7 separate regions of the Homo sapiens genome follow, and all the other regions are linked to region 3. The links are contacts of gene promoters, found by promoter capture Hi-C in blood cells and fetal thymus (Javierre and others, 2016). All regions are on one chromosome and are shown on one strand. The core of a region is centred on a gene start or on the middle of the fragment in contact, and the rest is flanking DNA. Distances in the headings are between cores, read along the strand shown. Region 1 overlaps ICE1 (interactor of little elongation complex ELL subunit 1). Region 2 has its middle 80 kb from the start of ICE1. Region 3 holds the start of TENT4A (terminal nucleotidyltransferase 4A). Region 4 overlaps LOC101929200 (a long non-coding RNA gene). Region 5 has its middle 96 kb from the start of ICE1. Region 6 overlaps ICE1 (interactor of little elongation complex ELL subunit 1). Region 7 overlaps ICE1 (interactor of little elongation complex ELL subunit 1).

The links. The method cuts DNA at HindIII sites, captures the fragments that hold promoters and counts their contacts. A CHiCAGO score of 5 or more calls a contact.
Region 1: a contact is called between a fragment that was not itself captured here and the fragment with the promoter of TENT4A in region 3, in 4 of 17 cell types (naive CD8 T cells, total CD8 T cells, M2 macrophages and 1 more). The highest score is 8.2, in naive CD8 T cells.
Region 2: a fragment that was not itself captured here is called in contact with the fragment with the promoter of TENT4A in region 3 in 7 of 17 cell types (naive CD8 T cells, total CD8 T cells, naive CD4 T cells and 4 more); the score reaches 16.4 in naive CD8 T cells.
Region 4: a fragment that was not itself captured here is called in contact with the fragment with the promoter of TENT4A in region 3 in 12 of 17 cell types (naive CD8 T cells, total CD4 T cells, total CD8 T cells and 9 more); the score reaches 26.6 in naive CD8 T cells.
Region 5: a contact is called between a fragment that was not itself captured here and the fragment with the promoter of TENT4A in region 3, in 8 of 17 cell types (naive B cells, naive CD8 T cells, total CD8 T cells and 5 more). The highest score is 10.8, in naive B cells.
Region 6: a contact is called between a fragment that was not itself captured here and the fragment with the promoter of TENT4A in region 3, in 10 of 17 cell types (naive CD8 T cells, naive B cells, total CD4 T cells and 7 more). The highest score is 21.6, in naive CD8 T cells.
Region 7: a fragment that was not itself captured here is called in contact with the fragment with the promoter of TENT4A in region 3 in 6 of 17 cell types (naive CD8 T cells, total CD4 T cells, naive B cells and 3 more); the score reaches 15.2 in naive CD8 T cells.

The regions. Positions count from the first base shown.
Region 1 is chr5:5,448,969-5,451,928 of GRCh38, forward strand. The region is part of intron 10 of ICE1 (interactor of little elongation complex ELL subunit 1); the gene reads left to right. Among named protein-coding and RNA genes, the nearest start is that of ICE1, 28 kb to the left of the region's middle. The HindIII fragment of the contact is 1,017 bases long and covers 754-1,770 here.
Region 2 is chr5:5,500,863-5,503,929 of GRCh38, forward strand. No RefSeq gene overlaps it. Among named protein-coding and RNA genes, the nearest start is that of ICE1, 80 kb to the left of the region's middle. The HindIII fragment of the contact is 3,021 bases long and covers 100-3,067 here.
Region 3 is chr5:6,711,710-6,714,804 of GRCh38, forward strand. It overlaps TENT4A (terminal nucleotidyltransferase 4A), which reads left to right and starts at 1,723. Exons shown (of 13, transcript NM_006999.6): 1 at 1,723-2,990. The coding sequence starts at 2,275. RefSeq lists an enhancer at 812-871 and silencers at 1,042-1,481, 1,592-1,961, 2,262-2,331, 2,702-3,091. The HindIII fragment of the contact is 9,360 bases long and covers 1-3,095 here.
Region 4 is chr5:5,417,970-5,421,020 of GRCh38, forward strand. It overlaps LOC101929200 (a long non-coding RNA gene), which reads right to left. Exons shown (of 6, transcript XR_001742583.3): 2 at 2,782-2,871. Among named protein-coding and RNA genes, the nearest start is that of ICE1, 3.2 kb to the right of the region's middle. RefSeq lists an enhancer at 1,314-1,383. The HindIII fragment of the contact is 1,637 bases long and covers 984-2,620 here.
Region 5 is chr5:5,517,551-5,520,747 of GRCh38, forward strand. No RefSeq gene overlaps it. Among named protein-coding and RNA genes, the nearest start is that of ICE1, 96 kb to the left of the region's middle. RefSeq lists an enhancer at 2,740-3,197. The HindIII fragment of the contact is 9,665 bases long and covers 1-3,197 here.
Region 6 is chr5:5,483,430-5,486,772 of GRCh38, forward strand. ICE1 (interactor of little elongation complex ELL subunit 1) reads left to right here. Exons shown (of 19, transcript NM_015325.3): 18 at 3,292-3,343. Among named protein-coding and RNA genes, the nearest start is that of ICE1, 62 kb to the left of the region's middle. The HindIII fragment of the contact is 3,984 bases long and covers 1-3,343 here.
Region 7 is chr5:5,464,688-5,468,067 of GRCh38, forward strand. ICE1 (interactor of little elongation complex ELL subunit 1) reads left to right here. Exons shown (of 19, transcript NM_015325.3): 13 at 1-539; 14 at 1,647-1,815. Among named protein-coding and RNA genes, the nearest start is that of ICE1, 44 kb to the left of the region's middle. The HindIII fragment of the contact is 1,907 bases long and covers 851-2,757 here.

The sequences.
Region 1 (2,960 bases), core at 12-2,511, 1.3 Mb before region 3:
TTTGCTTTCCCATTCAGTAGTCAGCGGTTGAATGGAATTATCTTCGTTTTTGGACTGACAGATTTGTTTTACAATTCAGCTATTCCCAAGCCTTACTATTCAAAGCAGAACCCTTCTGTCTTCTTTCTGTAGTTGCTCTCTCTCCCTATATTCTGTTGTATTTTTTTCAAATAACTTATTACTATCTCAAGTAAAATTGTTTTATGTTTTGTTTTTATCTACCCTCTTAATCAGGGCAGGGATATGTCTGTTGTATATTTTACTTTTCCCAAATACATAAAGTTTCTGGGAATCTGCTGGTTATTTAGCTGTGGACCTTGATGGGTTTATCCTTACTTCTTAAGTGTATTGTTAACACTAATACTTGACTTATGGAAAAGATTTGCAAAGTAAGCACCAGAGTATTAGGTTGACTTCACTTTACAAAAAAAGGCCATCTGAGTGCTACTTTGCCTTTCTTTTCTTTAAAATTCCAACAAAAATTTTCGACCGGAAAAAAAAAAAACAAAAACAGCAGCAACTCCTGGATAGTTACAAAGATTACCATCAGTAGAAGAAATGAGGAAGATGCACAGCAGATAGTATCAATTGGTGATGAAACCCGCAATTGCAGAGAAAATAGCAGCTCTCACAAAGTAAGTTTTCATTGCAGAAGCTGCGAGTTTCCCCAAATCAGAGATGGCAGGGAGTGGGAGAAGGAGCAGGACATTAGCATTTTGCCAGGTAATTGATTAAAGGGTGAAAGGAATGCCAAGCTTCTGGTTTCAAAAACTGTTTCTGGCCTTTGCTCATAAACTGTGGCCCCAGTTTCATTTTCTAAAGTTTTAGCTATGACAATGGAGCTCCTCAGAGTGGGCGTGGATATCAGAAAATTGGGTAATTATGGCCACTTTAAGGGCTAGCCCCTCCTCTTCCCAGAAAACAAGATGTTTATATACTCCATGTAAACCCTCACAACTGCGTCCACTTTCCACTGCTTCCCCTGCAAGGCAGGGTCCCACAGATTTATGAAATGAGAATCTACATTTACTGCTGAAGGAATAGCACTAAAAATGTAGGCTGAAGAAATACACTTTGTCTGCCAAAGATGTTCTGCCTAAACTCTCATCTAAAACTTAGAGAAAAAGCAGTGAGAAAAAAGAGAAAAGCAACAGACGCAAGAAGACTGAGAGAAACAGTCTTTAATTATGAATGAGAAGGAAATGCTGAAAACTGATTGCATTTCCTTTAGAGAAAGTCTAAGAACATGTCCATAGGCTGCTGCTATGAAATTGAACCAGATAGGGATCTTGAAAATTAAAAATCCAATTGTATAAATAAACCCAGTAGAAAGGTGGAAATACTGGATGAACAAATAAAAGATCAATTAAGTTGATCCTAGAGACTGAATCCTAGGCGGTTGAGAGCATCATACAAAGGGACAAACAAATTAAAGATATTAGAGAAAATAACAAGATTTGGAGGATAGAGCCAGATGTCTCAATATGCGTCTCCTAGGACTTCTCAGAGGGGAGAACAGAAACAGAAGGAGAGAAGGTGATCAAGACATGACAGAAGGGAACTTTCCTGAGCAGAGAACACATGGAATATTCATATTCATAGGGGCCACCAAGTGTTGAGCGTGATTTTTGTGTACAGTCTCCGTCTCTGACACCTTCGTAGGAAATATACCTAAAATCAAATGAAACAGACTGAATATTAGAGGGATGGATAAAAATATTCCAAGCAATGCTGACATTAAAGCAGTCATGTAAGGTAAAAAATAATAAAAGCTTAGAAATGAATTTACATTATTGAAATGTTGATTAAAAGTATAGTTTGCCATGAAGATACTGCTAGTATGTACCTAAGAGTGTGAAACGATGTCAAGCAATACTCTTGGAAATCTAGGGGGACTGGCCAAATCTATTTTCGTCGTGAGAGACTTCACAATGTTTTTTAGAAAGAGAGAGCAAAAGCAGACAAGGGATGGAATTGGAATCACAGTTCCAAATGGATAATTTATATACAACTGTTTGTAAACCACACACCTGGAGTTTGTTAAAATACTTTTCAAATGTATAAAAGTTGACTAGTAAGTGAACAATAAAAAATACCTACAATTTAATATGAGCTTTTAATAAAAATCCCCCTCCCTCTGCAAAAACAAAACCTGCAAAACTTACCTAATAACTAAACTCACATAAGACACACAAAAAACCTCTCTTTGGTAACAGAGAAAATAAGAATTGAAATACTAAACTGTTTTGAAAGTAAACAGTAGGGCAATATTTATTAAAATCTTTAAGATATAGCCAATTCCTTCACTATTCAAAGGAATATGTTAAGGCCTTACGTGATACATTGTCACTTTAGAAATAAATACGGAGAATGAAGTGTTTAACTGAAAGAAAAAATTGATGAAAATGCAAACTTAATGAAATAGGAAACAAAGCAATTGATTTAGGACAATTAAATCTGATAGCTGGTTCTTTGTAATGCTAGTGAAACCAACAACTCTTTGGTAAACTTTGATTAAACAAACAAACAGAAGGAAAAACAGCACCAGGATTGAGAAACAGGTAAAACTACAGTCAAGAAATTTCATAATTCACAAGTTCATATTCAGATGTGAAAATGTAAGTAGAATGGTCCATTTTCAAGGAAAACATGCTCAAATTGACTCAGAACAATTGCTACAAACCTGAACAAAAAATAGGAAGAAATTTTTAACAATAGTTAAAGATCTAACACCATAATAAATCCGGATAATTTATAGGTGAGCTTTGTAAACGTTCAGTGAAAAACTAGTGTCTCTGTTATTAATTTTTTTGTTTCAGAACTTAGAAAATAAGGAATGTTTCCATTTTATTCTCTTAGGCTAGCATAATGCTGTACCAAAATCAAATAGCATGCACACATGTTCTCAAGATTCAGGACTCTTGTGTTGTTAATATAGCTGCAAAAATACCAAATAAAAT
Region 2 (3,067 bases), core at 360-2,859, 1.2 Mb before region 3:
CAAAGTGCTGGGATTACAGGCATGTACTAAAATATTTTTAATGCACAGTTGAGCTAGCAGCAAATAAAGGAATCTCTTCAAAGTGAGAAAGGACAAGAAAGCTTAACTCCCCAGGAGAAAGGAGCACTGAAACCATTTGCCCTAGATTTGAACAGGGTGGGATGTAGACAGTCTCGGGTGGGATGCAGATGGAAGGTTACAGGCCACATAGAAGGGCAATGGAGACAAAGTCTGGGGCCAAAATTAGGGGATGTCATATCAGCGACAACCCCACCCCCAAAAGCCAAGTCTCACATAGGGAGATATCTTGGGGGTAAGCCAAAAAAAAAAAAAAGCCCCCAAAGAGGAAGAAGATAGGGATGCTAACCTACTGTTAACCTAACTGTGGGTGGATCAGAGAAAAAAGCACACACAAACAGCAATATCTCCCAGAAGAATTTCTACCCAAAGGCCTGCACTCATGAATTTGGGACAGGAATATATACTGCTAGTGGGCTCAATTCCCCCAAAATGTGTTTTCAGTGATCCCAGGTTAGAAGTACCATCGAGGACCTGCAAAGGCAGTTGCAAATCTTCACTACAGGGAAGTTATTTTGATTCCAGTCCTTAAAAGATCCCCACACATGAAGTTCCAAGGATCATGAATTCATACTCCTACCCACACAATCCTAAGCAGATGAGAAATAAAAGAACAAATAAAACATCATGAGAGAATTTCCAGGAACAACAAACTGTGCTTAGAGGCAGACTTACAAAATTTGTGTATATTTTATTTACCACATTTAGAATGTCTAAAATATGTGTGTTTAATATGTTTAAGAAATAAGAGAGGAATGCAAAAGTATGACAAAAGAATAAGAGATTACAAAAATTTACCAAATTTGAACAAGAGCAAAATGGAGCTTTTAACAACAAGACCACACGAACATAAATATTTCAAAGTATAAAGCCAGGAAACAAGGATAAAAGCAGATTAGTTACAAATGATGAGATAATTTATGTATGATTTGTCTGAAAATACCCAGAAAACAGCACAGGAAGACACAGTGATAGACAATAGAAAGTAAGAGGATGGAAGATTTCTCTTATGTTTAGAATGTAGAAAATAACAAGAAACTATTATTTTAATGAAATAACCCAAGCAAGATGTAAGAAGCAACAAAATCATAGTCTTTCTAATCAGAGAGCTGATGATTAAAAAAAAAGAACCCATACATGATTAAATTCTAGAAAATAGCAGAGAAGACAGATATATTTTATCTCTGTCTTCATTAGAACATGCTTGAAAATCAGATATTATTATCATTATGTCTGCTTCTAAAGCTGAGGCACAGGTAGGCTAAGTGCCCTTAACTTCAATGAAAATACAGACTTGTAAAAAGCCCTGAGTAGATTCTCTAAATCTGCCTGCTGATTCCAATGTCCTCATGAAGCATCTAATGGCCTAAGATAAAATCTCTTCCTTTTCTGGGAAGGGAAGAGATTCTCATTCTTCTTGTAAACACAAGAGAAAAAGAAATCTGCCATAGATGGGGATAAAGATGAATTAGGATGAACTTTAGTAAAGGTGCAATGGCATATATGGCTGACAGATTAGAATTCTGAGGCTCCTCAATAATAGAATATGCTTCCCCCACAGGCTTTCCTCAAATGCTCAGGAACAGTATGTGTGATGGTTAATGTTAGGTGTCAGTTTGACTGGATTGAAGGATGCCTAGATGGCTGGTAAAGTATTGTATCTGGGTGTGTCTGTGAGGGTGTGTCTTGAGTCAGTGGACTGGGAGAGGAAGACCCTCCCTCCATGTAGGTGGGCACCATCCCATTGGCTGCCAGCATGGCTGGAACCAAGCAGGAGGAGGAAGGTGGGATAGGCTGGCTTGCTGGATGTTCTGGTTTCCTTCTTTTTCCTGTGCTGGATGCTTCCTTCTGCTCCTCCTGCCCTTGGACATCAGACTCCAGGTTCTTCAGCCTTTGAACTCTGGGACTTGCACTAGTGGCTTGGCAACGACTCTCAGACCCTCATGCACAGACTGAAGGCTGCACTGTTGGCTTTCCTGGTTTTGAGGCTTTAGGACTTGGACTGAGCCACTACCAGCTTCTCTCTTCCCCAGCTTGCAGACGGCCTGTTGTGGGACTTTGCCTTGTGATCGTGTGAGCCAATTCTCCCTATAAAAACAAACAAACAAACAAAAAAAAAAAAAAACAAAAGAAAAAACCAAACCAAAACAAAAAAACACTCCCCCTTTTATATGTACATATATCCTGTTAGTTCCATCCATCTGGAGAATCCTGACTAATACAGTATACCAGAGCCTGCGGTGGAGACCAGATAGAGACCTGGAGATTCCCCTGAAGTCCAAGGCACCTTCTCCCAGACCAAGGCAACACCTACTGAAGGAGGAGAGAAGCAGAGCGTGAGATCTGTGATAAATCAACCCAAGGCACTCACCATTTTTAGTTCCCAAGAGCCGGGCATAAACAAGAGACCTGAGGGAATCCTCCTCTCTTAAAAAACAAAAGCAGTGGACCAACTATGAAGAGGAAAATTTCTGCCTTGAACTGTATCTGAAAGATGTTATTTGGGAAAGAAAAGAAAGAGAAGAATGGGCAAAGAAGTAATCACATGGTTGAAGTCTGTGGATGCAACTGTTAATGAAGATGGTTAAACTTGAAATAAACAATTTTAAGAATTATTTGGTCTGCAGATATTTTACTTTAAATAAATGTCTATTGTAATGGTAAAAAAAACAAAAACAAAAACAAAACAAAACAAAAACAAAACAAAACCAAAAAAACCTCAGGCTTTCAACTGACAATAGCTACGGGTGGGGCAGAAAAGATGAAAGAAACTCCTCCAGGGCATTCCAGACAGAGCAGGAGCTCTATGTGGATCCAAAAGCCTGGGCTGGACTGGAGAGCAAAGAAGATTCTCCAACAATGTACAAACCATCATTTGAGTTTTAAATCAGAGAGAGATCTCTCATGATTTGAAAAACTGGTGATTTGGGTGACATGAAAAACTTTGGGGAATTTCGCTAGTGCTCAGAAACCCACACACTGCAGAATG
Region 3 (3,095 bases), core at 473-2,972:
AAAAAGGATCACACGAGCAGCTGTGCAGAATGTGGGAAACCAGCTAGAAGGCACTGCTTTAAAATGGACGGGTGGCGGGGAAAGAGGGGTGGAGGGAGGAGGAGGGGTAGCAGTTGGGTTCTGGTTGTTTCGGGCAGTGGAGCCAAGAGGATGTGTTCATTGTGGACAGAGAGAGGAGCCAGGCATGACCAAGGATTTTGGACTGAGCCATTGGAAGCAAACAGCTCCAGAATAACGGCCGTTTGACTTGTGTGTGATTTTCTGTAGTTTACTGAATGCACGTTCTAATCCTTGGTCATGATTTCCACGTGTACAATATGAAGGTATTTGAAAACGTCTGAAACATTCATTTTCATTACTAACCACCACCACTTGCCCCAAAGCCTTTGTATGCAACACACGGACCTTTCCTGTTGGGGCGATGTTTGAAGGGTCAAGTGCTTAGTAATGTCTACTCATCTGTGCTGGAGACGAGGGGGTAGCATTTACAACACGCCTGTACGAAGGCCAGGTCCCGTTCTACTTAAAAGGCTTGGAGCCCGGGCGCCACTGGGCTAAGGCAGCTTCAGGGCCCTGGCCCGGGAGTGCATTTGCGGGGACTCCGCCTGAAGACAGGGCGGCAGCCGCGGGGCCTCACGTCGCCCAGGCTCGCGGGGCACCGCGATGATCAACGACACTGGCGTTTGCTTTGGACCTCACAGGATGTGTGGTTGGCGCTGTATTCCAAACAGTGCCACTGTCAACCCGGCTTCCATCGCGCTCGGGACACCGGGATGGCAAACGGCAGGCTGTGGATGGCGGGCGGTTTCCCACTGACTCCTGCCCGCTCGGTGCAGCTGGAAAAACCGAAGCCGGGGGCCGGACGCGCCGCCCACCAGCCGTTCCTCGGCTAGCACTGCCCATTTTGCCCAGGGAATTAACTTGGAAGTTTTCACTTCACTTTTCGCATAGAAAATCATTTTAAAAAGCAAACCAAACGCCTGTAAGCAGACCCGCTAGGGAGCAGGACTCTGCCGCGTGTCCTTCCCGGCTCCGGAGCGGCGGAGCCAGCCACCCGGCACGGCACGCTGGCCGCTCACCCCGCGAGGTGCAGGGAGCACGTGGGCCGACGCGCGGACCCCAGAGAGCGCAGCGTGACCTGCTGCACGGACCCTCGGATGAGAGACCTGGGGCGGGATCTGCGACCGGGGCCCGCCCTTACGTCAGGAGGGAGGGCCGGCCGGCGGGGGAAGCGCCTGCGGTGGCGTCCGCTGCCCCCGCCCGGCTGCTCGGAAACTTCCACCGGCGGCGGTGACGGCCACGCTGCCCTGCGCACGCGCAGCGCGGCTCAGGCGGCAGCCCGGTGACACCGGCCCTAGCGCGCATGTCTGCACGCCGGGGTCTGCGCGCCGCGGCGGGCCGAGGGCGGCGTGCGGGCCTTCCAGCCGCTGCCTATTCCACCCAACGCCGGCCTAGTCAGTAATGGCTCAACGCCACCGCCTCTCCCTCCAGCCCCTCCCAGTCGCGTAGCTTCTGACGCCGTCCTCACCCCGCCCGCGGCCGACGGGGCCCCAACGCGCAGGCGCGGTAACCACGGCGGCAGTGTCTAGTGAGGATTTGAAATCGGTCGCGCGTGCGCACCGGCGACACGGCCCGGCGACCGAGGCCGCGCTTCCTCCTGCCGCCCCCGTCCCCGCCCCCTCCCCCGCCCCTCATTGGAGCGGACGCGGCGGCGGCCCCCTCCTTCCCCCGCGCTGTCGCCGCCGAGAGTGTCTTTTCACCGCCGCCGCCGCCGCCGCCGCAGGAGCGCCGAGCCAGCGGCGCGAGCGTGACTGAGGGCTAGCCGCACGGGCGGCGGCGCCTCCCGCGGGTCCTTCAGCCGCTCGGCGCCTGGGCCCGCCCCCTCGGCCCCGCCGCCCGCCCTTCTCCGATGGCCTCTCCCCGCGGCCCGAGTGGAACGCCGCCGCCGCCGCGGCCCCCGCGCCCGCCCCGCGCCGCGTGAAGCGGGAGCCCGGAGACCGCAGCCGCCCGCTGGGACGCGCCAAGCGCCGGAGCCGCCCGCCGCGGCCTGCCGGGGCCCATCACCGCCGCCGCCGCCCCACGCCGGAGCCCGACGGGAGCGCGGCTAGAGCAGGAGGCCGGGGCTCGGCCCGCCCGCCGCCGCCGCCGCCGCCGCCGCCACCGGCCCAGGCCCGTCCGTCCGTCCGTGCGCGCGCGGCCGGGCCTCGGGGCGCGGCGGGGGCGGGGCCGCGTCGGGGCGGGCGGGCGCGCGGGCCCCGCGGGGGCGGCGCGTGGATGGATCCGCGCGTGGCCTGGATCCAGCCCGAGCAGAAGGGGCCGGCCAATGCCCTGTGGATGCAGATCTGGGAGACCTCGCAGGGCGTGGGCCGCGGCGGCTCGGGCTTCGCGTCCTATTTCTGCCTCAACTCGCCGGCGCTGGACACGGCGGCCGCGGCGGGGGCGGCCGGGCGGGGCAGTGGCGGCCTGGGCCCCGCGCTGCCCGCCGCGTCGCCCCCGCCGCCCGGCCCCACCGCGCCCGCCGCGCTGCCCCCCGCGCTGCTGACGGCGCTGGGGCCCGCGGCCGAGGGCGCGCGGCGCTTGCACAAGTCGCCGTCGCTGTCGTCCTCGTCGTCGTCCTCCTCGTCCAACGCGGAGTCGGGCACCGAGAGCCCCGGCTGCTCGTCGTCGTCCTCCAGCAGCGCCTCGCTGGGCCGGCCGGGCGGCGGCCGCGGCGGCGCCTTCTTCAACTTCGCCGACGGCGCGCCCAGCGCCCCTGGCACAGCCAACGGGCACCCCGGGCCGCGCGGCCCCGCGCCCGCCGGCTCCCCGTCGCAGCACCAGTTCCACCCGGGTCGCCGGAAACGCGAGAACAAGGCCAGCACCTACGGCCTCAACTACCTGCTGTCCGGCAGCCGCGCGGCCGCTCTCAGCGGAGGGGGCGGCCCCGGGGCCCAGGCGCCGCGGCCCGGCACCCCGTGGAAGAGCCGCGCGTACAGCCCGGGCATCCAGGGGTGAGTGCGCGGGGAGGCCGCGGGGGCGGGGGCGGGGCCCATGGTCCTGGCCGGCGCCCGCGGTGCAGACACCCGTCCCAGGCGCCCGGGCTTTTGGAGGATGGA
Region 4 (3,051 bases), core at 552-3,051, 1.3 Mb before region 3:
TAGCAGGACCAGGAGTCGGACAGGACAGAATGGGAGGCACAGGCCCCTCTCCTACCTCTTATCTTCTGGTTTCCTTGTGTATATCTGTTGGCACAGCTGAACAGAACTCTGGCAGGAGAGGTGGCACGTGGCTCCCCAGTCCCTACGTCACAAGGCAGAGTATAAAAGGGAAGGTGTGGGGCCGAGAGACAGTAACTTAACCACCAGCTCAGGGTCCTGGGATTCATCCCTCTTCCAGTCAGCAGGAAGTGACAAAGAGCACAGGAAGGCCCTAGGGGCCAGGCCCCTTTTGCTGATGTTTGGCTGGTAGAACTTAATCACATGTCAGGTGCAGGGAGGCTGGGGAATAACTAGACAGAATAGAAACAAGTTTTGGTGAGTGGCTGCCACTGGTGCTGTGTGGATACAGTTCAAAGTGAGGACTTTCCAGCTGTGGACATCCAGCTACAGTTCTTTGAATGGGGGATGGAAGAGCAAAGTTTTATTTCTGGCTGCTCACTTTGCCTCAGCCTCGCTTTCCTCGCAGCTCCCACTGAAATGCCCACCGTATCCAGTATGCAGAACTCCTGCTCATCCCAGTGCGGGTGAGCATGCGGCTCAGTCACCTCCAACCCATCTCCTGGAGCTGTCCCACGGTTCCCTTGGAACCACTCTAGGGCATGTAGCATCTGACTCTGAGTGCTTCACTTCGTGGGGGCACTGATTAAAACAAAGCTCTGGAATATAGCATCATCGAGAGGCAACTGTTGATTTAATTTATTAACATATACATCCACTGAAATGGCTGCTAGATGTGGTCTAGAAACCAAGGAGACCCCCCACTGGCCTCAGGTGAAGGGGAAACATGTCCCTCCCTTTCCTATCCCTCCTCAGAGTTAGGTGGGACATGCCCTTGCCAGCTGCTCTACAGAGAATCCCCTCCTCAACACCTGTCACCTCTGAGCACCTGCCGCCTTCTTCCTCCGATCCCGGAAGCTACAAGAAGCTTCTCGTGTGACCAACTCTTACAGCCGCCAGGTGTTCACAAACCCGCAAGGCAGAGTGGGCTTGTCCTCCTTTACAGAGGGCGACTGCAATGTGAGAGTTGTGAAAGTCCTTTCAAATGTTGCTTTTTTTTTTTTTACTTTTCTCAATCAGCTTTCTCAGGTTGAAGAAAATTTTGCTTAATAATCATATCAGTTTTGCTTTCTATTTCAAACTAATTGTTTCAAAACTAAATTTTATTTGTCCGGTTTCTAAGTAACATCAGTGTTTCAGGAAGAAGCAACATGTTTACTCTCTGGCTTCAAATCACTTTGAGGGTAAGAGCTGAGGCTGTGAGCAAATTGCTGATGTCTGAGGACAAGTCGAAACCCCACCACTATAACCCTGAGTGTTGAGAAAAACTGGAGCAAAGACAGCTTAGGACTAAGCCTGGTGGAACGTGTGTGGGCGGATAGCAAAGTGGTTCCCACAAGACGCCTTCCACCCTAGGATGCCCCAGAGGATGGCCTTTCCCCTCAGCAAGAAGGTTCGGTTAAGTCCTAATACCGTCGGAAATTCTATTTATGTGGAAAACACACAGGGAAAGACAGACATCTTGTGGGCATATGGTAGCATTACATCACAGGTCTGGAAATTAATACCTAATAATCAGGGGGTCATATCATTGAATAACACACTGTTAGTCACAAACAATTCCATCAAACATCTCTCCAATTAAAAGAAACAAATGAACATATAGTTCATTTTTCTTACAGTTAAATGCATCAATTAAAAGCACAGCCTTGAACTTCCAAAGAATAGACAGCTTTCCATTTTGAGTTCTCCTTGGTTTCTAGACCATATCTATTAGCCATTTCAGTGGAAGTATATGTTAATAAACTAAATCAACAGTTACCTCTCAATGATGCTAATTCCAGAGCTTTCGTTTTAAGCAGACACCAAGTATCTGAGAGGTAATGAGCGTGTGGGGTGAGAAGTGAGACTTTTTGAGTTGGATCCTCTGAACAGCTGGCTGGATTCGACAGGCACAGGGAATCCCAAGACCAGAGACTGGAATGCAGACATTCCTCCGGGTCTTAGGGCTTCTCTGGCAGAAAAACAACAAGTTTATCTTGGAAGTTTGACAGGAAAAATGCTTTTAAAGAAAAAGCAAACCATCTTTTTCCTATGAGTCAGTTGAAGATATATTTATCTCCTTTCCAAAATGGATACCACCATCAATAAATTATTAATAACTATTTGTCTAGTGAATCCTATAGAGTGGGTCCCATCCTTGTCACTTTTTACTTAAATTACCGTTGGTCCTCTGTAAGGAAACACCAGCACAAATAGGTCATTTGCGTAAGAATTTAAAGACAGATGTGTGGTTCCAAAGCCATAGTTCACCACTTGCAGTATACACACTTGCTTGTTTGTTTCCATCGTGATGAAAAAACAGGTGTGGCCCATCATGCAGGAAAGAGAAAAAATGTAATTCTGACCATTCCTCAATTAGTGGCCTACTACATTTTCATTATGACCAATAATCACACCTGTTTTTTTACACCCTGCATGTTAAGAATGACTTTCACATTTTGAAGTTTCTTAAATAAACAGAAGGTGACAAATAGGTGGCACAGACCTGTGTGACCTACAAAGCTTAAATATTTACCATGTGGCTCTTCAGAGTCTGCCTATCCCTGCATTACGTAAACAAGACTCGTTTTCATTAGATGTCTTGAGAACTGGCTTTGAGAAAGGTAGGAGAAAATACACTTTTATTAACATTTTTGAAGGGAAATATTTGTTGTTTCTTACCTTCAATTATTTGCAGCACATTTGATTCTTTCTGACTTTCATTTAACATCTACTATGCAGCACTTTGCAGCATTTAAAGGGAAGACTCATCTGTAAGACATAAAAACCACCATCATCCAACTCAAAATGTGATGTTACTAAAAATTACTCCGTGCTAAGGGGATTTTTTGCCCCTTAGGTGGCAGATCCTTGGGGTTGTGGAGGTAAACCCCGGAGCCTGGAAGAGCAGGTAGGATTTCTACACCTAGAGCTAGAAGGAAGCGTGTTCCA
Region 5 (3,197 bases), core at 561-3,060, 1.2 Mb before region 3:
TCAAAAGGCCATCTTATTCTCAATATACATTTTATTACCCAATATGCTCCTGACATTAAATAAAACTCCAAAAATTAGCATCTGGCCCTCAAACCCCACAACAGGACTTAATTAACCTCACCTTCAATGTGTACAATAATAAAAAAAAAAGTTGCAATTCCTTGCCTCCACTGTGAGACAAACCCCAGCCACATCTCCAGCACACAAGAACTTCCAAACGCCTGAACCACAGCAGCCAGGCGTTCCTCCAGAACCTCCTCCCACAGGAGCTTGCTACAAGTGCCCGAAATCTGACCACCAGGCCAAGGAATGCCTGAAGCCCAGGATTCCTCCTAAGCCATGTCCCATCTGTGCGGGACCCCGCTGGAAATCGGACTGTTCAACTCACCTGGCAGCCACTCCCAGAGCCCCTGGAACTCTGGCCCAAGGCTCTCTGACTGACTTCTTCTTGGCTTAGCGGCTGAAACTGATGCTGCCTGATCACTCGGAAGCACCGTAGACCATCACGGATGCCGAGCTTTAGGTAACTCTCACAGTGGAAGGTAAGTCCGTCCCCTTCTTAATCAATACGGAGGCTACCCACTCCACATTACCTTCTTTTCAAGGGCCTGTTTCCCTTGCCTCCATAACTGTTGTGGGTATTGACAGCCAGGCTTCTAAACCTCTTAAACTCCCCAACTCTGGTGCCAACTTAGACAATACTCTTTTATGCACTGTCTTTTAGTTATCCCCACCTGCCCAGTTCCCTTATTAGGCTGAGATATTTTAACCAAATTATCTGCTTCCCTGACTATTCCTGGACTATAGCCACATCTCATTGCTGCCCTTCTTCCCAATCCAAAGCCTCCTTTGCATCCTCCTCTTGTATTCCCCCACCTTAACCCACAAGTATAAGATACCTCTACTCCCTCCTTGGTGACCGATCATGCACCCCTTACCATCTCATTAAAACTGAATCGCCCTTATCCCGCTCAACGCCAATATCCCACCCCACAGCATGCTTTAAAAGGATTAAAGCCTGTTATCACTCGCCTGCTACAGCATGGGCTTCTAAAACCTATAAACTCTCCTTACCATTCCCCCATTTTACCTGTCCTAAAACCAGACAAGGCTTACAAGTTAGTTCAGCATCTGCGCCTTATCAACCAAATTGTTTTGCCTATCTACCCCATGGTGCCAAACCCATATACTCTCCTATCCTCAATACCTCCCTCTACTACCCGTTATTCTGTTCTAGATCTCAAACATGCTTTATTTACTATTCCTTTGCACCCTTCATCCCAGCCTCTCTTTGCTTTCACTTAGACTGACCCTGACACCCATTAGACTCAGCAAATTACTTGGGCTGTACTGCCGCAAGGCTTCAGAGACAGTCCCCATTACTTCAGTCAAGCCCAAATTTCAACCTCATCTGTTACCTATCTCAGCATAATTCTCATAAAAACACAGGTGCTCTCCCTGCTGATCGTGTCCTATTAATCTCCCAAACCTCAATTCCTCACAAAACAACAACTCCTTTCCTTCCTAGGCATGGTTAGTGCAGTCAGAATTCTTACACAAGAGCCAGGACCACACCGTGTAGCCTTTCTGTCCAAACAACTTGACCTTACTGTTTTAGCCTAGCCCTCATGTCTGTGTGCAGTGGCTGCCGCTGCTTTAATACTGTTAGAGGCCCTAAAAATCACAAACTATGCTCAACTCACTCTCTACATTTCTCATAACTTCCAAAATCTATTTTCTTCCTCATACCTGATGCATATACTTTCTGCTCCCCGGCTCCTTCAGCTGTACTCACTCTTTAAGTCCCACAATTAGCATTGTTCCTGGGCCGGACTTCAATCCAGCCTCCCACATTATTCCTGATACCACACCTGACCCCCATGACTGTATCTCTCTGATCCACCTGATATTCACCCCATTTCCCCATATTTCCTTCTTTCCTCTTCCTCACCCTGGTCACGCTTCATTTATTGATGGCAGTTCCACCAGGCCTAATCACCACACACCGGCAAAGGCAGGTTATGCTATAGTACAAGCCACTAGCCCGCCTCTCAGAACCTCTCATTTCCTTTCCATCGTGGAAATCTATCCTCAAGGAAATAACTTCTCAGTGTTCCATCTGCTATTCTACTACTACTCAGGGATTATTCAGGCCCCCTCCCTTCCCTACACATCAAGCTCGAGGATTTGCCCTCACCCAGGACTGGCAAATTAGCTTTACTCAACATGCCCTGAGTCAGATAACTAAAATACCTCTTAGTCTAGGTAGACACTTTCACTGGATAGATACAGGCCTTTCCTACAGGGTCTGAGAAGGCCACCGCAGTCATTTCTTTCCTTCTGTCAGACATAATTCCTCAGTTTAGCCTTCCCACCTCTATACAGTCTGATAACAGACCAGCCTTTATTAGTCAAATCAGCCAAGCAGTTTTTCAGGCTCTTAGTATTCAGTGAAACCTTTATATCCCTTACGGTCCTCCGCCTTCAGGAAAAGTAGAACGGACTAAAGGTCTTTTAAAAACACACCTCCCCAAGCTCAGCCACCAACTTAAAAAGGACTGGACAATACTTTTACCACTTTCCCTTCTCAGAAGTCAGACCTGTCCTCAGAATGCTACAGGGTACAGCCCATTTAAGCTCCTGTGTAGACGCTCCTTTTTATTAGGCCCCAGTCTCATTCTAGACACCAGACCAACTTAGACTGTGCCCCAAAAAACTTGTCATCCCTCCTATCTTTTGTCTAGTCATACTCCTAATCACCATTCTCAACTACTCATACATGCCCTGCTCTTGTTTACACTGCTGGTTTACACTGTTTCTCCAAGCCATCACAGCTGATATCTACCTTTTATACCTGTTTTTCTCCTTCTCTTATTCCATTTCATTTCTCAATTCATCCAAAACCATATCCAGGCCATCACCAATCATTCTATACGACAAATGTTTCTTCTAACAGTCCCACAATATCTCCCCTTACCACAAGACCTCCCTTCAGCTTAATCTCTCCCACTCTAGGTTCCCACACTGCCCCTAATCCTGCTTGAAGCAGCCCTGAGAAACATCGCCCATTCTCTCTCCATACCACCCCCCAAAAATTTTCGCCGCCCCAACACTTCAACACTATTTTGTTTTATTTTTCTTATTAATATAAGAAGGCAGGAATGTCAGGCCTCTGAGCCCAAGCCAAGCCATCGCAT
Region 6 (3,343 bases), core at 675-3,174, 1.2 Mb before region 3:
GGTCACAGGATTAGTACACGGGGTTTACTCCAACCTACCTTAATGATTAACTATTAAAGAGCATTTTGTGGAATGCTTGAATTGCTCTAGAGTCACAGAAATGTGGTGGAGAATAGAAACTGATCTCACTGCAGTGCTCAGTTCTTGGCAGAGCTGAAGCCTAGAAAGATTAAGCCCTTCTCTGAGGCCATCCAGTGGAAAGGTAGCAAAGTTGGGACAGAAATTTGCCTACCACTGGATTCAGTGGAGTGTAAATCTGTAGAATACCACCTTTCTGCCCCAAAGAGCTTATAAAATCCTGAATAATTTGCCCCTCCTTGTATTAACTGGAACCTAGAGCTAGAAAAACACTGTGTCACATGTCAGGTTTCTGCAGGTCAGACCGAAGTAGCCATTATTCAGTGATTTCTATCTGTTCTCTTGGCAAATCTGTCAGCTTTCCTTTGAAATTGTGTCAGCTCACCTTTCCTTTGCAAACTTGCATCCAGAATCTTAAATGAAAACCCTGCTGTCTTTATCTTCTAATTAGTGTTTATTAGAAGGGTCTGCCTGTAGACTTACTTTCTGTGCAGGCCTCAGCTCTGCTGGGGCTCCCTTGACAGTGCTGGGGATTGCATTGTCATGGACGTTGAGATTAGCTCCTCATTTCTTATTTGTATTCTAATACGGCTGGATGGCCCTGGAGTGTCCTCACATACCTTCTGTGGGGAGCTCTTCCTCCATCATGGCCAATCTGTCATCTCTGTCAGGTCATCGTATATTGAGTCTTTTTCCCCAAATCATCTACTAGACTCATGATTTCCTCTTATTTTACTCCTTAGCTCCATTAATTTAAATCACTTATAAAACTGAATTTCATTAAGTGCTTTTAATTGAAAGGGAGCCCTTATAACATGATGATATATTTCCTGGGAACGCATGCACATCCCATGATTGAGTAATACCATAGCTGTGCTAGATGTGCATCCCTTTCTCTGCTGTTAGTCATACAGTTAATATCCGTGGTAGATTGTTCCAGAGGACAGATCCAGTGGTATGCTGGTAGCAGTTTAATCTGATTGCAAAGAGATATTTGAAAGTGGTCAGTGACCTGAAATTTCTGATTTCTGAAGTAAATTACTTTTCAGTTTCCTAGGCTCCCTAGAAATTATTCAGATATTTACAATATCATCTTACATTGGGAGTTATCCTGATATTCTTTGATCAGTAATTATGTACTGAGCATCTGCTGTGTATCTCAATATTCAGGCTGCACGTACCTAGCACTAAGCTAGTTCCTGTAGAGGATACAAAGTAATGCAAATTACTTAAGCGTCCCATGCCTCAGCTTCTCCACATTTAAAATAGAGATGAAACTCATATGCTGGATCCACATATAGACCTGTGGGACACTTGTAGTATTGAGAGAGAATGTGAACACAGAACGCTGAGCATACAATATGATACTGTTGTAAAAGCACATCCAAGATATGTTCGCAATTCTCCTACTTAGGAGTCAAAAGAAGATGAGGATTTGCCTGGATGGAGGGAACAGGATTCCACTTTGAAGCAAGTTCTCATCCATAGGAGAGCTCCTGGAGTAAGGGAAGGCTGCGAGTGTAGGGGAATGGGGGGAATGATGCCATCCTGCTTGCTTTAGCCTTTGGGGAATTTGGTTGCCCTGTGATCTCCATCCTTGGATCTTTGGTTCTCATACCTGTTAGTTATTATTGAGAACCCTCAAAGAACTTTTGTTACTCCAGGTTACATCTATCTGTATTTACTTTGTTAGTAATTAAAAACTCAGAAATTGTTTATTTAGTTATTCATTTAAAATGAACAGTAATGAACCCATAAATGACGTTTTTAATGAAAGATAACTATATTTCCAAAACAAACAAAAAATAATGAGAATCGCATTGCCTTGTTGCAGACCTTTGTACTGTCTGGTTTGATATCAGATGGCTGATTTTTCATTATCTGTTCTGCATTCATTCTCGTGTGTTTTTCATATCCGTAAGACTGAATATATGAAGAAAACCCATTCTCATACAAATACACAGTTAATGGAGGGCAGAATCTTTTACTAGCCTTTTCAAATACGGATATTCTTTTTTGATGCTACAATAAAACTCAACAAGTAGTAATTTCTTAAAGGGTACTTGAAGTGTGAAATCTGAAATGCTGTCAGTGAGCTTTTTATACCTTGTTACACTAAAATCCATTGAGCTAGCTTAAATGTTGAAGGGATCCTTTTGCCCACTTATGATTTTGTAACCTGCATTATTCACTTGGAAAATAATTGATTGACATAGATCTTCGAAATGCCAACAATACCCAAAAATCACATTTAATATCACCAATCTCATCACAGAAAAGTCTTAAATATTGTAAAGCTGTCAAGCTCAGGATAGCTGATGAAAATTGTTCCAAACTTTTAATTTTGCTTAAAAGCTCAGATGTTATTGACCACGAGGATAAAGTTCATTTAAGTTACAGGTTCACTTTGTTTATTGTTGAAAAAAATCTGCGTTGTTCCAGTTAGCCATAGTTTGTCAGTTCTTTCAATCAAAGGTGGTGTCCTATGAGAAAAAAGCGCCTAATTTCACTCACAAGACAAACAATTGGATAAGTGCATTTCTTCACAACAACCAGTGTACTCAGTGTATGGGGGAGTGCTTCCTGTGCCGTCTACAGCATGTTACAGAGTTCTGTGCTTAGGGGTCCAGGTTTAGTGAGAGTAATTGTGACTAAGTAAAATTGGCTTTTTGAGTGTGAGCACCTGGCAGTGGAGAATAACTCCCATTTAGCGAGGTGCCACTGTCTTGACTTGCACTCACAGTCCGGTAGTTTGATCTGCTGTGGCTTTTGCACCATCAGACCACATGTCAGCACTGGGAGGAAGGCACTTAACTTCTTAGCATTGTTGTGAAGTAGTTTGACTTAGAGGACACTAAGGTTTCTGTAGACTACACTTGAGAATTACTGCTCTGTGGTATAATAGCAGTTGCCAAAGTGTCAGACCAAAAATACATATTTTGGTGGGACCATAGTCTTATCTTTGATCTGTTAACTTAACAGAAGTCAGGCGTTTCACATTGGCCCTACTGAAACCATTCTTTCTTCTAAATTCTATTTATTCCATTGTAACTTGGAAAGCAACACATTGTATATCATCTGGTATAGGTGATTGCAAGACGAAATGATGAGGCATTTTGATCACCTCTTGTAAGAGAAGTGGACCTTTAAATTCTTAGGAAAAGTTAATCAACATTTAACTGGACTGTTTACATTTTGGTTTGTTTCCCCTAGGTCGTTTAGGCCAATTGGGTTTGAAAGAAGGATTTCCATCTGCTGTGAAAAA
Region 7 (3,380 bases), core at 554-3,053, 1.2 Mb before region 3:
ATTTACCGGGACCTGCCAGTGCTATGATAGGATTCAAAACGATCACTTCAGCAGCAACTGCTTTTGTCAAAACTGGGAGCAGCTCTGGTGGTGACTGTAACCAAGACAAGTCAAGAGATTTGGGGACTCAGCAGGATTCAAGCGGGAAAAGAACACTGTCAACGTCTACACTGAGAAGTGCTAAAAGACTGCGCCTGGACACTGGGTCCCCAGAACCAGAAACCAGGGGAGTCACTGCAGAAGGAATCCACAAAAACCTCCCAGGGAACCTCCCTCCAGCTGAAGTTGCAACAACAAATGAGGAAAGAAGTTGTTCTAGTCCAGCCGTCAGTGCAGTTTCACAGTTGCCTTTAAGCCCAAAAGAAACTGTGGAGTCCCATGATAAAGCCATAGCTAATGCCCTGAAGAAAATTGCAGAGTTTTCTTTTGATCTGTTACCTGTCATTCGTAGTCATGTGTATGTGGGAAATATCTCCAAAAAGCCCGTAATGAGAGATCAAGAGAAGGAAGTTGTTTATGAATTTAGCACAACAAAAAAGGTATGTGGCTGCTCTTTTCTAAGTGCATTAGGGATTACATGTCCTCAAAGACAGATGCTGTTTACTGTCAGCAAAATGTGTAGATGACCATGAACAAAAGTTTTACTTCAAGGATGAGAGTTATCCATGTAAACATTACGACTATATTTCTAGCCAGCATTTTACAGATTTAAAATATGATAAGACACTGGAGATTTGGTCATTTCTATTCATTAAATTACTTAAATTTTTTTAAAGTATCTGTCAGGACTAAAATTACATATATCCACTTGATCCTGGCATGTTTAGAGGCTTAAAATTATTTTCTTCAAAGCTTCAAATTATCACATAATTTTTCTTTTCCTTGAGTTTTTGTTACAAATCAAACAGGAGCAAATGCTTAGTGTCAAGAGAGGGAAAAAAGGGATGGTTTAAATTTAAATATGTAGTTTATTAGGACTTTTATAGTTCTATATTTTCTAAATATCCACTGGTACCTTGCTTGGATGACTTCTAGTGCTAGACGGATCACACTTAGTGCTTATCTGCAGACACTTGGAGTCATTTTGGCATAAATATTTATTTTTTTAGATTGCTTCCTTGCAGAAAGCATAAGGAGCTCCGTAAGTCACTTTGAAAGGAAGTGAATGCATATATCAAATTATGTAATGCTCCTCTTAGGACAAAAAATGTTACTTAGTATTTTAAATTTAAACAGTATATAGAGTAAATTAGAGTTTAGAAAACAAGAATGAGAGTAGAATTACATACTGTATTTCATATACTCACACAGATTACATAAGGCAAAACCCAAGAAATTATGATTATTTGACTAGTGGTAGTGACAGTATGCAGCTAGGTCTTTTGAGACTTGCATTCTGGCATCTGCAGCATTTACCAGCCATAGGAAACAGACAGGCGTGGGGATTTCTTCAGTACCCCCGACCTCGATTCTCATGATTTACCATGCTAGGTAAGTTCTTACCAGTTACTATGCTCTACCTTCTGATGTAGCGCAAGTTTTATTTTTTCAATAGATACTTAAGTTTTGTAACTTTTAGATAATCTTTGGTAGGCTGAAGATAAGTATGAGTGTACATTGCCTTTTTAATTTTTTTTTCAATCCAGCATTTAGCAGAGTGCTTGCTTCACTCTATTCTCTCAGAACTAAAAATTCAGAAGATATCTATGGACCACAATTACATTCACGCCCTCTGCAGGGTGTATGTGGGTATTTGTCGGCAACTCGGAGACTTGGAAAGAGCTCGTTTGTTTTGCTACAGCCTACTTAAAGAAGGTATGCTTAGATTGTGACAATTTTGTATTGAAAATATACGATTGCCTTTTTCCCTTATACTGGAGTCTATATTTTCAGCTCTGATTACTGTGTGTCTTTTAAAATAATGTTATGTTTTGTCCATTGAATAGCTTTAGCTATACCCAGCTGCACCTGGTCTTTAGTAGGGCTTACTTATATCAGCACTATATTTCCACTTGTAAATAAATGAGTATCTCTCATTACTGTGTATTTGTTCTATGCTCTGTGCAGCTGCTTTAGAATTAGATATAGTTGCCTTAAAGTATGGGATACTTTAAAGTAAGTGACAAGCCAAACTGCTGTACCACTAGGTGGAAAGGGCAGCAACTTTAAGATGGAATTGTAAGCTGATGAAAAGAAGTAGATGAGAGAAAGCTGAAAGGAGACGGTGACATGAGGGTTGTCCTTTGATTCTCTTTTCTCTTTACTATTTCTTCCATCCCTACTAGTGGATCAGACTGGGAATCATTCTTTGCTGTATCAAATCATCAGTATTTTTAAATCATATGATATACAAATGAAACCTAGTATCGTATCAGTCTTATCTCAGTGGTAAACATTTACCATCTTTGACTACCATGTTTATGGGGCTTATAAATCAGGATAATTGAGTATATCCATCACTTTTACTGTTGTGAACGAAGCTGTGAAGTGTTTCATTTGCCCACTTCATTTCTTTGTTTACTCTCTCAGTCATTCATTCAACAAATCATTATGGAGTGAATGTTGGGATTTCTGTGGTGATTAAAATCAGATGGAGGTACACTTGTCCAGTGGGACTGACAGGCCATAGTCATATCACAAAAACACACATGAAGTTCAGCAGTTGGTGGGTGGTGGGACGGAACGGGTGTGGGCTCGGCCAGGACCACGATGGATTTCTTCTTCTTCCTCAACCACAGCAAGCCCATTCTTAGCTCAAGCTTTTGTGCTGACAGCTTTCTTGCTCTGTTTCCCTCAACTCTTGTGTTTCACTCCATTAATTTCACATACCTTCCTAGTCATCCTGGATCCCTTATTTTTCTTTATTTGCCTTCCTGGCACTTACCACTTCTTAAAGATTAAATATTTTGTTTGCTGTCTCTCTGCTCCTCTAGCTTGTATACTCTGTAAGGAGAGAATTTATTTGTCTTGTTTCTACTCTGAAGTGTCACCAGATAAACATAGGATTCAAAAATTAACAGATGAAGTTTAGTGCAGTGAGTTTATGCTTTGAGCTATCTATTCTTAGATGTGTCAGTGATAGATAAAGTAGAACAAAGAAAACTAAAAAGATGTGATTGTACAGCAAACAGGATAAAAATCTTTACTTTGGAAGGCTCTTTGACAGTTTCTTATGAAATTAAAACATTCATTTATCCTATGGCTCAGAAATTCCACTCAGGCACTTACGCAGCAGAAACACAGAGTTAGATCATGACATCATTACATAAACTAGCACGCGGATGTAACATCTTGACTCATAGGAGCCCATAACTGGAAACAAATGTCCATCAGCAGGTGAATGGAAAACATTTTGATATATCAAGCAGTTAAATACTACT